3 separate regions of the Homo sapiens genome follow, and all the other regions are linked to region 1. The links are contacts of gene promoters, found by promoter capture Hi-C in blood cells and fetal thymus (Javierre and others, 2016). All regions are on one chromosome and are shown on one strand. Each heading gives the region's core, a stretch centred on a gene start or on the middle of the fragment in contact. The rest is flanking DNA. Distances are from core to core; before and after follow the strand shown. Region 1 holds the start of UBE4B (ubiquitination factor E4B). Region 2 overlaps PGD (phosphogluconate dehydrogenase). Region 3 overlaps KIF1B (kinesin family member 1B).

Region 1 (4,966 bases), core at 703-3,202:
TTTCTGCTGTATTCGAAAAAAACAAAGTAACGCCGAATGGGCAGTCCTGATTTTCCAAACCAAGTATCCAAGTATCACAATCAACAAAATCATTTGCTTCCTTTCCTACCTGACCCTTAACACACCACTGCGTGTCCTATCCCAGGAGAATTTCAGTCCCTAAGTAAACACACTAAGTACTCTGTAGCTAAAACTGGAGCATGGAAGTCTTGTAGTACAATCAACTTGATGGATGACTGCTTTCCTAATACTGTAGGGAAGTTTACATGATGAACCAGTGAAGAAATGTGGAGGTAGGCTAAAGAGGGTATGGCCAGTAGGGGTCCTGAAAGGGAAGCTCCTAATTTGCAAAAAGGAAGAGAAAAGGCAGTAGAATCATAGGAAATTCCTTGTACCCTAATTGCCACTGCTTTTTGGTTGTTTTTTTTTTTACAACAACCTAATTTATTAAACAATCTTTAAAACATCAAGAAGTAGATCTGTATAACTCCTTTAAGAAATGAGAACAGGAGAGAGTTTAGAAAGTCATTTGCTTCCACTTGCTTCCCGTTCAGTCTCTGCTACAGCAAAACACAAGTTTGAAAGATTCAAGAAGTAGGAAAAGATAGAATGTAACAGAAGAATGCCAGAAGTCATTAGTGGTCTATTAAGTACCAGAATATAACTGGAATTCTCTAAACTGTGGAGAAGATACATATTTTGTTAAATATCAAAGAATCTGTCTGTAAACCACCCCTCAAGCAAAAATATATGTTTAATCAAGCTTATACAGTGCAATAACCACACATATCTGGAATTTCAAATGCTTTCTTTAAAAATATTCACCCACCATACATTCTCATTCCATCCAAAATTGTTCTTTAAATTCCTGAAGACACAGACACACACACACTTTAACTTCATGTAAATCTCGCCCTTCTTGTTCGCATACCCTGAAGAAAAGAATAAACACCTCAAGATGCTCTCTCCTCTTGTTCATACCCTAAAAGAACACTCGGAAAGAAGCAAATGGAGTTCAGAATGAAGAAAGAAGGCAACAGAATAAAGGAGAACAAAACCAGAGACCCTATCGGGGAGTCACGTTATTCTTGGAAAATATCATCTCCGTTCCTTCTCCAAGCCCAAAGGCCAGACAGCACTGGCGCAATACCATCCCTGTCCAAAGCGCTAACGAGTTGCCAACTAATCCCTCAAGGTGTCCCCCAACCTCCTCACCTCATCAGCGCTCAGCTCCTCCATCGCTTTCCTCTTAATGGTGAAAGGCGTTAAGGAGAGATCCTTCTGTTCTCGAGACCACGGCGGGAGGAAGGAGAGTGGAAGGTGTCTATCAGGCTGTCTGGTCCCCCGAATGGGGGAGGTTTCAGAATTGCATAGTCAGAGGTTAAAAAATAAGAACACGAGAGGCACTAAACTGCCTTGGCTTCGGTCACTCCAGTCGCCCCACAGACTACTACAGCCGCTTGTTCCCTGAGCAGCCTCCTTTGGCCGCCACTGCTGCTGCTACAGGGTTGTCTTAAGGCGCCACTTATTACCCTCTGCTTCCCAGGTTACCCAGCTAGGCAGCGCGGTCTCCAGTTCGTCTCGTGCCCCGAGCCTGCTGTTTCTTCGTGATAGTGGCGCGGTAGCTGCGTTCCTACAGCAGATCCTGCTCTCCTTCCTACCCTTTGCTCCTGGCGGGAACTGGTCGACTGCAGAGTGGATACCCCGAGGTAAGGCGACCCCACAGCCGTCCTGGCAGAGCCCAGCACTGTAAGGGAAGCCCCTCCCCTCCCAAAGCAGGCCGGCCACGCCCCGCCTCCACGCCGGAGCCCGGGTAGGGGGGAGGGGGAGGATGGGATGCGCGTAGCTCTCGCTGGAAGAGTAAATCCTCCTACCCCTCCACCCCTACTCTTTCCCCCTCGCCCCACCAAGTATTATTCATCAAAACAACAGGGCGGCCATCTTTGAAAGGGATCACGTGACCCCCGTCAGGGAGGCGGGGCTTCTGGCGCCGGGACGTGGCAGCCAATAGGCCGCGGGCGCCGCGCCGCCGAGTTCCTCTCGCCTGCGTCCTCTCCCCGCCTCCGTCCCACCCCGTCCCGCGCAGCCGCGCCGGACGTGGGGAGGGGCAAAGGGAGGCTGGCGGCTGGGCGGGGCGTTGCCACGGCGACCGCGCTGGGGCTGCGGGCGCGGCGGGCCTGAGCCAGGTAGGCTGGCAAGGGGAGGGACGACTCCCAGACTCGCGTCGGGGAAGATCCACCAGAAGGTGGCGCTGGCCCGCGGCCCGGGGGCCCGCCGCGCCTCCGTTGTTCCCAATCGCCTGCTTTTCTGTGACTTGGGGGCCTAGAAACACCTCATCGCTCCCACTGGACTGTGCGCGCCCGCCGCCTAAGCGAGGGAAAAGAAAACGGAAAACGTCTCCTTGACCCCGGGAGCGTGATCTACCGTATTGAGCGCTCATTTTCTGAAACATCTGCCACACACTCTTCCACCTCCTCCAGGAAAGCCCAGTTGGAAGAAAACTCGAACACAAGAACTCCCATTCATTTTATTTTACCTTGGCCTTTTAGAGATACTTCCTGGGTTTTTTTTTTTTTAAGTGTGTTCAAAAAGTATTGGTAAAATTTGAAAGTATAAATGGATGAGAGACCCAAATCACTGAATTGTACACAGCAAATGCAAGGAAGACGTTTGGAGTCAGTGGGGGAAAACCATCCTCCGGTGCACAAGAATACAAATATTTGGCCGGGCGCGGTGGCTCACGCCTGTAATCCCAGCACTTTGGGAGGCCGAGGCGGGCGGATCACGAGGTCAGGAGATCGAGACCATCCTGGCTAACACGGTGAAACCCCGTCTCTACTAAAAAATACAAAAAATCAGCCAGATGTGGCGGCGGGCGCCTGTAGTCCCGGCTACTCGGGAGGCTGAGGCAGGAGAATGGCGTGAACCCGGGAGGCGGAGCTTGCAGTGAGCCGAGATCGCGCCACTGCACTCCAGCCTGGGCGACAGAGCGCGACTCCATCTCAAAAAATATATATATATGTATGTATATATATATTTATAAAATATAAATCTAAGTTGAGCGATCAAAGTAACAGTACCATGAAATTCCAGATTTTGCCGCTGACGAAGACTATAAGTGGATTGGATGGCTCACTAAGCCATAAAGACTGCATTCCAGAATTAAGAGTTACAATGTATTTGCTACATGCTTAAAATAGGAACCTGACTACTAGATATGTAAGGAATTTGTGAGTAAAAATATGTAAGGAATTTGTGAGTAAAAATAAATCACTGCTGGCTTTGCATATTATCTGCTCTCCAGGAAAGGAATTCTGTGTAAGCCAGAACTTGAACCCCTGGTGACATTGATGTTAAAAGTTTACTTTTTTTAACCTCATTATTGCCATCTAATTTACATACCATACAATTCACCCAATTAAGGTGTACAGTGGTTTTATTATGTTCACAGTTCAGTCATCCTCACTGTCCAATTTCAGAACATTTTCATCATCCCAAAAAGAAACCCTCAAAGCCATTAACAGTCACTCCCGGGCTGGGCGCAGTGGCTCACGCCTGTAATCCCAGCCCTTTGGGAGGCCAAGGCGGGTGGATCAAGAGGTCCGGAGTTTAAGACCAGCCTGGCCAAGATGGTGAAATACAAAATACAAAAATTAGAAGGGCGTGGTGGCGGGCACCTGTAATCCCAGCTACTTGGGAGTCTGAGGCAAAGAATTGCTTGAACCCGGGAGGCAGAAGTTGCAAGGAGCCGAGATCGTGCCACTGCACTCCAGCCTGGGCAACAGAGCGAGACTCCGTCACAAAAAAAAAAGACTCCTGCAGGATAACTACCTTCTGTCTTGGTGAATTTGCCTATTCTGGACATTTCACATCAGTGGAGCAATACACCGTGTGGCCTTTGGGGTTTGGCTTCCTTCACTTAGCATATGTTTTCAAGGTTCACGCATATTGTAGCATATATCTGTACTTCATTTCTTTAATGCCAAATGTATCACTGTATTGCTGTAGCGCATTTTGTTTATCAATTCATAGTGATATTTGGGTTGTTTCCACCTTTTGACAATTATGAGTAATGCTGCTATAAACATTCATGTACAAGTGTTTGTTTGGACATATGTTTTTATTTTTATTCCTTTTAGGCATATACCTAGGAGAGGAATTGCAGGATTACATGTTTGACTTTTTGAGAAACTGTCAAACTGTTTTCCAAAGCAGCTGCACTGCCACCAGCAATGTGTGAGGGTTCTAACTTCTCTACATCTCTACCAACAATGGTTTTTGTCTGTCTTTTTTATTGTAGCCACACCAGTAGATGTGAAATGGTATCTCTTTGTGGTTTTGTTTTTCATTTTCCTAGGAGCTAATGATGTTGAACATCTGCTTAGGTTTATCTTCTTTGGACAAATACCTATTCATTCATATTCTCTGTTCTTTTTTTTTTTTTTTTTTTTTTTTGAGATGGAGTCTTGCTCTGTCACCAGGCTGGAGTGCAGTGGCGCGATCTCAGCTCACTGCAACCTCCACCTCCCAGGTTCAAGTGATTCTCCTGCCTCAGCCTCCCAAGTAGCTGGGCCTACAGGCGCCCACCAGCATGCCTGGCTAATTTTTGTATTCTTAGTAGAGATGAGATTTCACCACGTTGGCCAGGATGCTCTCGTGGATCTCTTGACCTCGTAATCCGCCCACCTCCGCCTCCCAAAATGCTGGGGTTACAGGCATGAGCCACTGTGCCCGGCTTTTTCTCTTTCTTTTCTTTTTTCTTTTTTTTAAGACAGAATCTTGCTCTGTCACCCAGGCTGGAGTGCACTGACACAATCTCGGCTCACCGCAACCTCTGCCTCCTGGGTTCAAGCGCTTCTCCTGCCTCAGCCTCCCGAGTAGCTGGGATTACAAGCATGGGCCACCACGCCCGGCTAATTTTTGTATTTTTAGTAGAGACAGGGTTTTGCCATGTTAGCCAGGCTGA
Region 2 (4,966 bases), core at 1,701-4,200, 380 kb before region 1:
TCAAAAAAACAAAAAACCAAAAAAAAAAAACAAAAAACCAAACATCACAACTGATGGCCCCAGGGAGGTAGAGTAACCATGGCACCAGCCCTAGGCTACATACCTGGCAGTTTTCAACAGCTGACTTAAAGAAGTCGTCCAGTAGGAGGTTCTGAAGTTCCGGGTTTCGATCAAATGCATCCTTTATCTTTCCTAGGAATACACTGAAATAATCAAGGGGGGAAAAAAGCAATGAGTCTTTTTTTTTTTTTTTTTGAGACGGAGTCCCGCTTTGTCACCAGGCTGGAGTGGAGTGGCACGATCTCAGCTCACAGCAACCTCCACCTCCCAGGTTCAAGCGATTCTCCTGCCTCAGCCTCGCCAGTAGCTGGGATTACAGGCACGCACCACTACAACCGGCTAATTTTTGTATTTTTAGTAGAGACAGGGTTTCACCGTGTTAGCCAGGATGGTCTGGATCTCCTGACCTCGTGATCCGCCTGCCTCGGCCTCCCAAAACGCTGGGATTACAGGTGTGAGCCACCGCGCCCGGCCAAATGCAATGAATCTTAACTCTAACAGGGAAGTAAGCTGGAAGCCGATGTATACCCTAGTGAAACAAAGTTACATTTCTCATTTCTTCAAGCTGTTAACCCTTTTCCTGTTTAGAAAAAAAGTGCAGCTCGCTGCCAGCGCTCATTTAATTTTACATAAACACGCTTTTTGAGGCTGAAGAAAATCTGACGATTTTCAATATGAAAATAAAATATAAAAACTATTCTTGGCGTTATTTCTAAAGAGAACTAATATTAGAATCATCTGAATCACCAGAATCATCTACTTCAGAAAAATCAGATTCATCAAATGAATCTTCAGCCAACATGAGAACGATGTAACGTCATGTGTAGAAATGCTACGTTTTCTATGATTTGGCATTTTCAATGAAAATACAGAGCAAAATTCCCAAGAGGCAAGGCCAGAGGGCACGATAGTTCACAGAAGTACTTTAAAAGGTGTAGTGTAGTAGGTGTAATGCGGAGCCGGGCGCAGTGGCTCACGCCTGTAATCCCAGCACTTTGGGAGGCTGAGGCGGGCAGATCACCCAAGGCAAGGAGTTCGAGACCAGCCTGGCTAACATGGTGAAACCCTGTTTCCACTACAAATACAAAAGAATTAGCCGGACATGGTGGCGTGCCCTTGTAATCCCAGTTACTTAGGACGCTGAGGCAGGAGAATCACTTGAACCCGGGAGGCAGAGGTTGCAGTGAGTCAAGATCGCATCATGGCACTCCAGTTTGGGCAATAAGAGCGAAACTTGGTCTCAAAAGAAAAAAAAAGGTGTAGTGTGGACAATCTAGTTACAGCAACTGAGGTACAGTGAAGAAGGGAACCACATAATCTAAGCCTATCTTGTGCCAGTGTCCAGTGATGGGGCTAAGTGCCCATCCCTGGAAACTGCTCAAGCTAAGTGTCCTAAGATCGCACTTCTGCACAGCCGTGTGAGTCCTTCCCGTCGGACCCTGGGCTGCCTCTCACTTACCTTCTAATGATGCAGCCCCCTCTCCACATCAGGGCGATGCCACCATAATTGAGAGTCCAGCCAAACTCGGTGGCTGCCTGCCTTAGCAGCATAAAGCCTTGAGCGTAAGAGATGATCTTGGAAGCGTAGAGTGCCTAAAGAGTGACACAGAGACCTACTAGGATTGCCATTAGGAGAGTGACCGCCTTATGTCTACCAGTCTTATTCTCATCAGCAGTGGAGATCCCAGAAGGGCCAATATTCTAGGAAAACATTGTAAGTCAAGATCCAAGTCAAGGCTGAACTTCATTCCACCTGCCATCCTGTGGCCTCGAGTGTTCTCCCACCACAACCCCCACCCCCACTGCCTTCCGCAGGACCAACAAAGACCACTGCCAGGGACTGTGTCCCACCTTCCGAATGTCCTCCAGGAATGATTTCTTATCACCATCAAACTGGAACTTCTGGGGACCCTTCAGCTTTTTGCTAGCTTGAATTCTCTCATCCTTCAGAGATGATAAGCACCGAGCAAAGACAGCTTCTCCTACATGGGGAGATCGGGAAGAGGAAACAGATTACTGTCAGGCCTCTGAGCCCAAGCTAAACTATCATATCCCCTGTGACCTGCATGTATACATCCAGATGGCCTGAAGCAAGTGAAGAATCACAAAAGAAGTGAAAATGGCTGGTTCCTGCCTTTACTGATGACATTCCACCATTGTGATTTGTTCCTGCCCCACCTTAACTGAGCGATTAACCTTGTGACATTCCTTCTCCTGGCTCAGAACCTCCCCAACTGAGCACCTTGTGACCCCTCGGCCCTGCCCGTAAGAGAAAAACCCCCTTTGACTGTAATTTTCCACTACCTGCCCAAATCCTATAAAATGGCCCCACCCCTATCTCCCTTCGCTGACTCTTCGGACTCAACCTGCCTGCACCCAGGTGATTAAAAAGCTTTATTGCTCACACAAAGCCTGTTTGGTGGTCTTTTCACACGGATGCGCATGAAAATTACCAAAGTTCGCACAGCAACCAGAAGAAAGGTGGAGCAGGAAAGTCTGTTTATACAAAGAGCTGAAAGTTTCAACCTTAGGCCACAAAAGTTGACATGGATCGGAAGGAACTTTTATAAGAAGCTCTAAACAGTTAATTTGATAACTAAAACTCTTAAGACAATCTTCCAATACAAACATGAGTATTCAATCACAAAGATTAACATGAAATTCAAAAGGGAGTTTTGAGGGAAAATGAAGAGATAGAAACCACTGTTATGGCTGGGCAAGGTGGCTAACACCTGTAATCCCAGCACTTTGGCAGGCTGAGGTGGGAGGATCACTTGAGCCCAGGAGTTCAAGGCTACAGTGAGCCATGATCACACCACTGCTCTCCAGCCTGGGCAACACAGTGAGACCCTGTCTCTAAAACCAGTAAAATAAAATAAAAACCACTGTTATGTAGAATACTCAGTGTTGGTCCATGAGTAAAATTTCAAATTCAATTTAGAGGACCTTAATTTTTTTTTTTGAAGATTTTACATTGATAAGTCACATTTACGGACTCACCTCTCAAAAAAATGTTAGGTTTTTATATTTTACGGTTTTCAGTATAGCCGTAATCATTCAAGTTTAACCACTTTACTTCATTTGAATTAAAAAGTCAATGTAGTATTTTAATATTAAGACATTTAGTATTTTCAGAAAGTATTCCTTATAAAAGACTTGCTCAACTGACAACTTATAGTTAGAATAAATGACTCTTTAACCACTTTTTCCCCCATAGACAAAATGAAGTAAAATCTCAGGGAACTAACAGAGGACTTTATTTCTGAGGAAAGAGGAGCAGCTATGGCTTGAGACTGCTAACCCTACTCCAAACACACAAAAGCAGCTACCTCTCTCCTGGCCCAAATGCACACACAGGATGACTTAGCATTTCTAGAAGGAAGCTTTGTAAGATGACTGGTGCAACAGGCTATGAGGCAAACCCTTCCTGTTAGAGGGGGAGAGGGCAGCTGGAAGACTTCCCTGTTAGTTCACAAATAATGATGGCTCCCAGCAGGGGGTGGGCCCAGCCACCCTGGGGGAAGAGGTATATGGATCCACAGGAGGAGAGTAGGATTCTGAGATCCTAATACTTACACATATACTTGAGTCCGTGATGAATAAATTGCTCCTAGCTATTGGCCCCTCCCTCCTCACCTATGTTATGGCTCAGATCGGCTAAAAGCAGCCAACTTCCTTCTATACAGCACGGAACTGTAGAAACCACCGACTTTCCTCCTTACTCTGCCTTACACCACACAGTTCAATAGGGCGAGGCACAATGAACAGGGAGGTCAAAAGGGGAGAAGAGTCAAGGGAGAGAAAGGCAACCTGTATCCAGAGGAGCAAACAGGAAAAATTCTGTTTTATTATTTTTGAGATGCTTCTTTTTTTTTTTTTAGGCGGAGTCTTGCTCGGTCGCCCAGCCTGGAGTGCAGTGGTGCGATCTCAGCCCACTGCAAATTCCGCCTCCCAGGTTCAAGTGATTCTCCTGCCTCAGCCTCCTGAGTAGCTGGGATTACAGGCACGGGTCACTATGCCTGGCTAACTTTCGTATTTTTAGTAGAGATGGGGTTTCGCCATGTTGGTCAGGCTGGACTCAAACTCCTGACCTCGTGATCCGCCCACCTCGGTCACCCAAAGTGCTGGGATTACAGGCGTGAGCCACCGCGCCTGGCCCAATTCTGTTTTAATATAGTGAGAACAATCTGCCAGAAGCAAAGATCAGCCTCTCATTAACCACGAGAGGCATCCTTCGTTCTCCTTTTTCATTCCTGCCAGAAGTCTATGTATTTTACTCTTAGAACCACCTTTGCTGGGCATGGTGGCTCACGCCTGCAATCCCAGCACTTTTGGAAGCCGAGGCGGGCAGATCCCCTGAGGTTAGGAGTTCGAGACCAGCCTGACCAATATGGTAAAACCCCGTCTCCACTAATAACACACAAAAATTAGCCAGGCATGGTAGCGCATGCCTGTAATCCCAGCTACTCGGGAGGCTGAGGCAGGAGAATCACTTGAACCCGGGAGGTGGAGGTTGCAGTGACCCGAGATCATGCCACTGAACTCCAGCCTGGGTGACAGAGCACAACACCGTCTCAAAAAACAAACAAACACACTGAAAACCACCCCCCCGGCCAAGATTTTGATATTGTTAATCCCCTCTCGTTTTATGTTTATTTCTTTATATTATTTCCTTATCTTTCTGAGTTTGATGCTTAGCTCACTAATGTAAGATATAAAACAAGTGGGCAGGATACACACCAACTTCAGGATAGTGGCTTTCTTCTAAAAGAGGAAGGAGAAGGAACTTAGCAAAACAACGAGGACTCAAATGGATAGGTAATTTTTATCTTTTTAATATCTAGGGGAAAAAAGTAAATTTTTAATAATTTCTGAGTACACAAGCATATGTTATTCGCAAACTTTT
Region 3 (4,966 bases), core at 1,376-3,875, 310 kb before region 1:
CACTCACCTGCTGCTCCTTTCACCTGCTCTCTCCTCAGCTGTGCCAAGGACTGGCCCAGGCTGCAACCCTGCCTGGAAGGCCCTTCCAGCACATCCATGCATGTACTGACTATGGCCTATGTGCCAGGCACAATGCCAAGTTTGACACACCTTTTCTTGCTTATACTACATCCTTCAGGGAGCTTCCTATCCCCTTTCTCCACCCAACTATCCTCCCCAACAAAAAGTAACTTAAAATAGCTTTCCATTAATAGAAATAACTTTCCCTTTCTCCACTCCCACTGCATTTAGTGAATATTTTCTCATGTTCATCTTTGCATGACTGGTGTTTATGTATGCATTTTATTTCCCCTATCGTAATTCGAAGCTCACTGGGAGCATCTGAGATTCATCTGCATTCCCCAGTTGTCAGGCACAATCCTTGTGCACAGCAGCTGATCAAAGTTTATCAGATACATGCTTGCTTATATTTATACCAACATGAAAAAGAAGATGGCATATTTTGTGTTTGCTTGTTCCATCTTTGAAGTTCTCCTTTCCTCTCTTACTTTAGAGAGCAGACATGGTTAGCAAGAGAATGAGAGACAGTTTCATGTAGTAGTGAATATCCTGAATACCAGAGCTAAATTTCTCTGAGCTTAAGTCCTATCTCTGCCTCTTGTAACACTGATGAGTAACTTTATTTTTATTATTACTTTTTTATTTTTTTTGAGATGGGAGTCTCGCTTTCTTGCCCAGGCTGGAGTGCAGTGGCACAATCTCAACTCACTGCAACCCCCCCATCCTGGGTTCAAGCAATTCTCGTGTCTCAGATGGGATTTCACCATGTTGGCCAGGCTGGTCACAAACTCCTGACCTCAAGTGATCCACCTGCCTCGGCCTCCCAGAGTGCCGGGACAGGTATGAGCCACTGCGCCCAGCCTGATGAGTGACTTTAATTGCTCTATGCTTCAGTCATCTCAGCTAACACAGGGATTATCTTAATCTATGGTATAAAGGTAAAGATTAAATTACACAAAAACTCTCAGAACAGTGACTAACACAAAATAAACTCTCAGTGAATATTAGCTATTGTGATGAGGATAATGACTTTGGAATAGAGTTTGAATGAAATTTCACGTAAGAGAGGGAAGGGTCTGTTTTCTTACTCCACGTAGGAATACAGTTGTAAAGGGCATTAATGTGTTAATTATACTATCAGTTGCAAGGAAAACAGATCTAAATCTTAATTTAGCTACAGAAGGTATTTGATATTTTTTATGTTATTTGCAATCGAGCAACATAAGTATCTTAGGGTTTAAAGGACAATGCATTCACTTTAATAAAACTCTTATTAAGCATGCTTATTTTTCTAGGACAGAAACACTAAAACAACTCATTGCATTCAAACTGATGGAAGATTTTATTGGCAGACGAACCCACATTCACTAGGCCCACTGTAACACAGACAAGAAGGCTTGCTGCTCAGGCCGCTGTGGATGACCTCACCACTCTAGCCACGCCCTCTATTGTCTACTCTCCCCCTGCACAGCCAGTGACTTGTACCTCTTCTTATCACCCTTCCCGGGCTGAGAAAGCCAAGGTACCAGAAAAACATATGTTTGGCAAAAAGGTCCATGTCACTTACATTCTGCACATGATAAAAGGCCAGGGGACTTCCTCTGCCATTGTTTTTGAGGGGCTCCGTGGAGAATGCTTCATCATGGCGATGCAAAAAGCTTCATAAAAAAAATAAAAAGACTCGTGAACAATGCATTAAACGGTTTTATCAGAATCTCTTTCAAGAGCCCAATGTGGATCCTACAGAAAGAAGCATTCCACTTAAGCAGATTCTTTAAGTTATTTACTTTCCTTGTCAAGAACCTTTTCCATATTGCACAGAGGGCATTTTAGATTTTATTTCAAAAATGACTGAAAAATTAACTGACCCTGATCACTTAGCTATATGGAGGTATATGCAAGAATGCTTTAGAGAGAGTGAAGAAGTACATTCAATTAACTCCTCTTCCTTTGTAAAAGCTTTTTACTAAAAATAAAAACAATGTCATTTTGTACAGACAAAATTTAGCAGACTCAAGCTTCCACAGTTAGTGCGAGAGCCTGTGGATGGCATAGTTACATAAGAGTCTGTTGTGGATTCAAATGTCACCTCTTCCAGGCAGTCTTTCCTGACTTACCCTGGCAGCTTTGTGTTCCCACATTACTAGTAATGTTTTTTTCCTTAATAGCAATGATTTCACTGTAATAATGTATTTATATGCCTCTCTCCCCCAGACAGCAAGCGTTTTCCCACAGGTCTCGACACACAGAAGATACTCTGGAAAGATTTGTTAAAACAATGGGCTATATTTAGTTATTTTCACAGATAGTGAGATGTTATCGTTCTCTCTCTCTCTCTCCCTATTATTAGTCTGAAATAAAAAGAACTGCACAGTTAAAGAGGACCCAACACAAAGATTTACTGCCAGATAGAAAAATCCATCAGAAGGACACCCCTTCCATCAAGAAAAAATGGAGAAAAAGAAACTATTTTCAACTGGGGGGACAGACAGACTGGTAATATGAACTTGTTGTCTTCCAAATTAGTTCACCCGTCTGAGAACACTAGCATGCTTTTGCCAAGTGCTCCAAATCCCTGATTCCTGTATTGCTGGCACCGCAGCATTCCTGGGGTTCCCTGACGACAGGTGAACTCATTCACAGTGCTCTGCAGCCATACCTTCCCGGCACAGGCCAGAGGAGCGACTATAAAAACACAGGACGCCTTTGAGGCTGCTTTCAACAGAAGCAACATGCCCTTTTCCCCAGAGCTAACACCAGGTAGAGATGCTGCTCTTTTTAGGAGATTGTAGGACAAAGGTCAACTCACTATTATTGTCACTTCAGACATCAGTTAACCAAATAGATGTTTTCCATAAAACGTATCAGTTGCCTGATTAGAATAATAGCAACAGTTCCAAAAAACAGATTCATCTGGTGAACACTATCCTGCCCTAAGTTTGAGGGTATGAGTGAAAACACATTAAATAGGTGAAATCAATGCTCAATGGGTAATATTCCAACAACTATGACTTGTAGCAAATGATATTAGTGGCTTACTATATAGTGATCACATTTAATTTAAATCACATTTGACTCAATTTTCTGTGATAAAACCTATACAAAAGCTTTATAAACTGCACTAGGACCCATGGGACGGCCAAGGCACATTCTGAGGGGAGAGGGATGGCAGAACCCAAAGCAGCCTCTTGGTGGCACCAGTGGCAAACTGAGGGCGGTAGGTATGGAGGGGTCACACTTCAGTCTCTTGTACTGTGGCCCTTTCCAAGTACTGAAAAGACAAATTGAAGTTTGGAGGTATTAAAACTGAAGATTCACAAAAAAATGTTTTCCTGGGGCAGTCTTGAGAAGAAAGCATCCAGAGCACAGGGTTTGAGAGGGCCGCGGGAAAGAGCAAGTCCTATGTAGATGAGAAATGAGAGGTATCACATCTTCCCTACATACTAGCTTTTTTCAGTTGATGTAGAATTTATCCTTCTTTACATTGTTTAAATTTTCCTTTTCCCGAGTATTAAATAGGCGTAATTGCTAGCTAGATAAGTCATTGCTTTCAGGCTTATTAATAAGACATTTCAACATGAAGAGGACTAGAAAGACTCATCAACAGGCTTATGTGATCAGACCCTACATTCCTGGTAAAGGGGGACCGCTCACAGCAGAGCCCTGCAGCAGGATGTGCAGCATGCTCCTCCTGCCAGGGAACCCTGTTGCATTCCAGGACAGGTTTCTGGTTCTCACTCCCATAGGAGTGATGAAAGTATTTTCCTTCAGAGACTGATCAGTCTTTGTCTCAAGAGTGTTAATCCCTCACACATGTAAAGCACTCTACAGTGCACAAGAGATGTCACCTCGGTTAGCAGCTAGCTGGGAGGCAGAGCAAAGGGGCAGCTTACTTGAACTGACAGAAGATATCTGCATACTCTGGGAGGATTCCACTGGCCTGCAACACTGTTACTCGGAAAGTGAAGGCACTGCCCAGTTTCAGGTGGTTGCCAATCTCTTCAGAAAACCCTTCCATTACCATCTTACCATCCAGCAAAGTGCTTGACTTCAAATCTAAAGAGGGTCAAATGAAGACACAGATGGTTCAAATAATGCAAAGAGGAGGGAGTTGGGCATGCTTTCCATTCCTAGTTGATGAAGGCCACTATGTCCCTTGATAATGGTCAATATTTTCCCTTTGTCGAAAATGTCCCCAAGCACAGTAAACTATGTCTACATACCCAAGTCATTAATTCGACTGATTTCTTCTGGAGGAGTGATGACCTCAGAACTCTGACCCTGTCCTTCCACAATCCTCAACTCCTCCAAGGACAGACCAGAACGAGTCATTGCAACAGACGAAAAGTCACTCTGAAAAAAAGGCAGGGGCAGATACATGGTAAAGTAGTATAAAAACGTATTTTTCCCCAGTTGCCTTACTTCTGTTTATCTGTCCAACAAATAATAGTGACTGGAAAATTATATGGACTGAGGGCTGTCTGAGGAAAGGCAATGAATAAAATATGAATATTGAGTCTATACACCTTTACCTTCATAATTGTTAGACATGTCCCATATTCTATTGAACTACTCTGTGGCAACCAGCACCCTGTATTTTTCAGTTTTACAGGAGAACTGATCTCCAATGCTGAACATTCTTTCTCTTTCCACAGGGTTTTCCTTCTTCCTGACGGTTTCTCACCTGATTAAAGTATTCATTATCAAAAGATATTTTAGCTGTTCCTGACTGTCGAATTCCAGAGCCATAATCAGGAGCTTCTTCATCCGCTAAAGCAGAAAAAAAAATTAGCAAGAATTGAGTGAGACTACACAGGGGGAGGGAGGGAAAAAGCTCTTGCTGGATTATAAACTCAAGTCTTTGGCATGAGAGAATGATACCAAAGTAGTAACACGGCATGGGCTG

The links. The method cuts DNA at HindIII sites, captures the fragments that hold promoters and counts their contacts. A CHiCAGO score of 5 or more calls a contact.
Region 2: a fragment that was not itself captured here is called in contact with the fragment with the promoter of UBE4B in region 1 in 3 of 17 cell types (erythroblasts, monocytes and megakaryocytes); the score reaches 6.1 in erythroblasts.
Region 3: a contact is called between a fragment that was not itself captured here and the fragment with the promoter of UBE4B in region 1, in 2 of 17 cell types (endothelial precursors and megakaryocytes). The highest score is 8.5, in endothelial precursors.

Annotation. Positions count from the first base shown.
Region 1 is chr1:10,029,944-10,034,909 of GRCh38, reverse strand. It overlaps UBE4B (ubiquitination factor E4B), which reads right to left and starts at 1,952. Exons shown (of 28, transcript NM_001105562.3): 1 at 1,216-1,952. The coding sequence starts at 1,239. RefSeq lists enhancers at 1,085-1,134, 1,526-2,180 and silencers at 1,695-1,914, 1,945-2,334. The HindIII fragment of the contact is 8,691 bases long and covers 766-4,966 here.
Region 2 is chr1:10,414,063-10,419,028 of GRCh38, reverse strand. PGD (phosphogluconate dehydrogenase) reads right to left here. Exons shown (of 13, transcript NM_002631.4): 9 at 1,912-2,042; 10 at 1,520-1,653; 11 at 104-203. Among named protein-coding and RNA genes, the nearest start is that of CENPS, 14 kb to the left of the region's middle. The HindIII fragment of the contact is 991 bases long and covers 2,455-3,445 here.
Region 3 is chr1:10,336,521-10,341,486 of GRCh38, reverse strand. It overlaps KIF1B (kinesin family member 1B), which reads right to left. Exons shown (of 49, transcript NM_001365951.3): 29 at 4,745-4,830; 30 at 4,284-4,413; 31 at 3,954-4,116; 32 at 1,628-1,718. Among named protein-coding and RNA genes, the nearest start is that of PGD, 60 kb to the left of the region's middle. The HindIII fragment of the contact is 1,089 bases long and covers 2,081-3,169 here.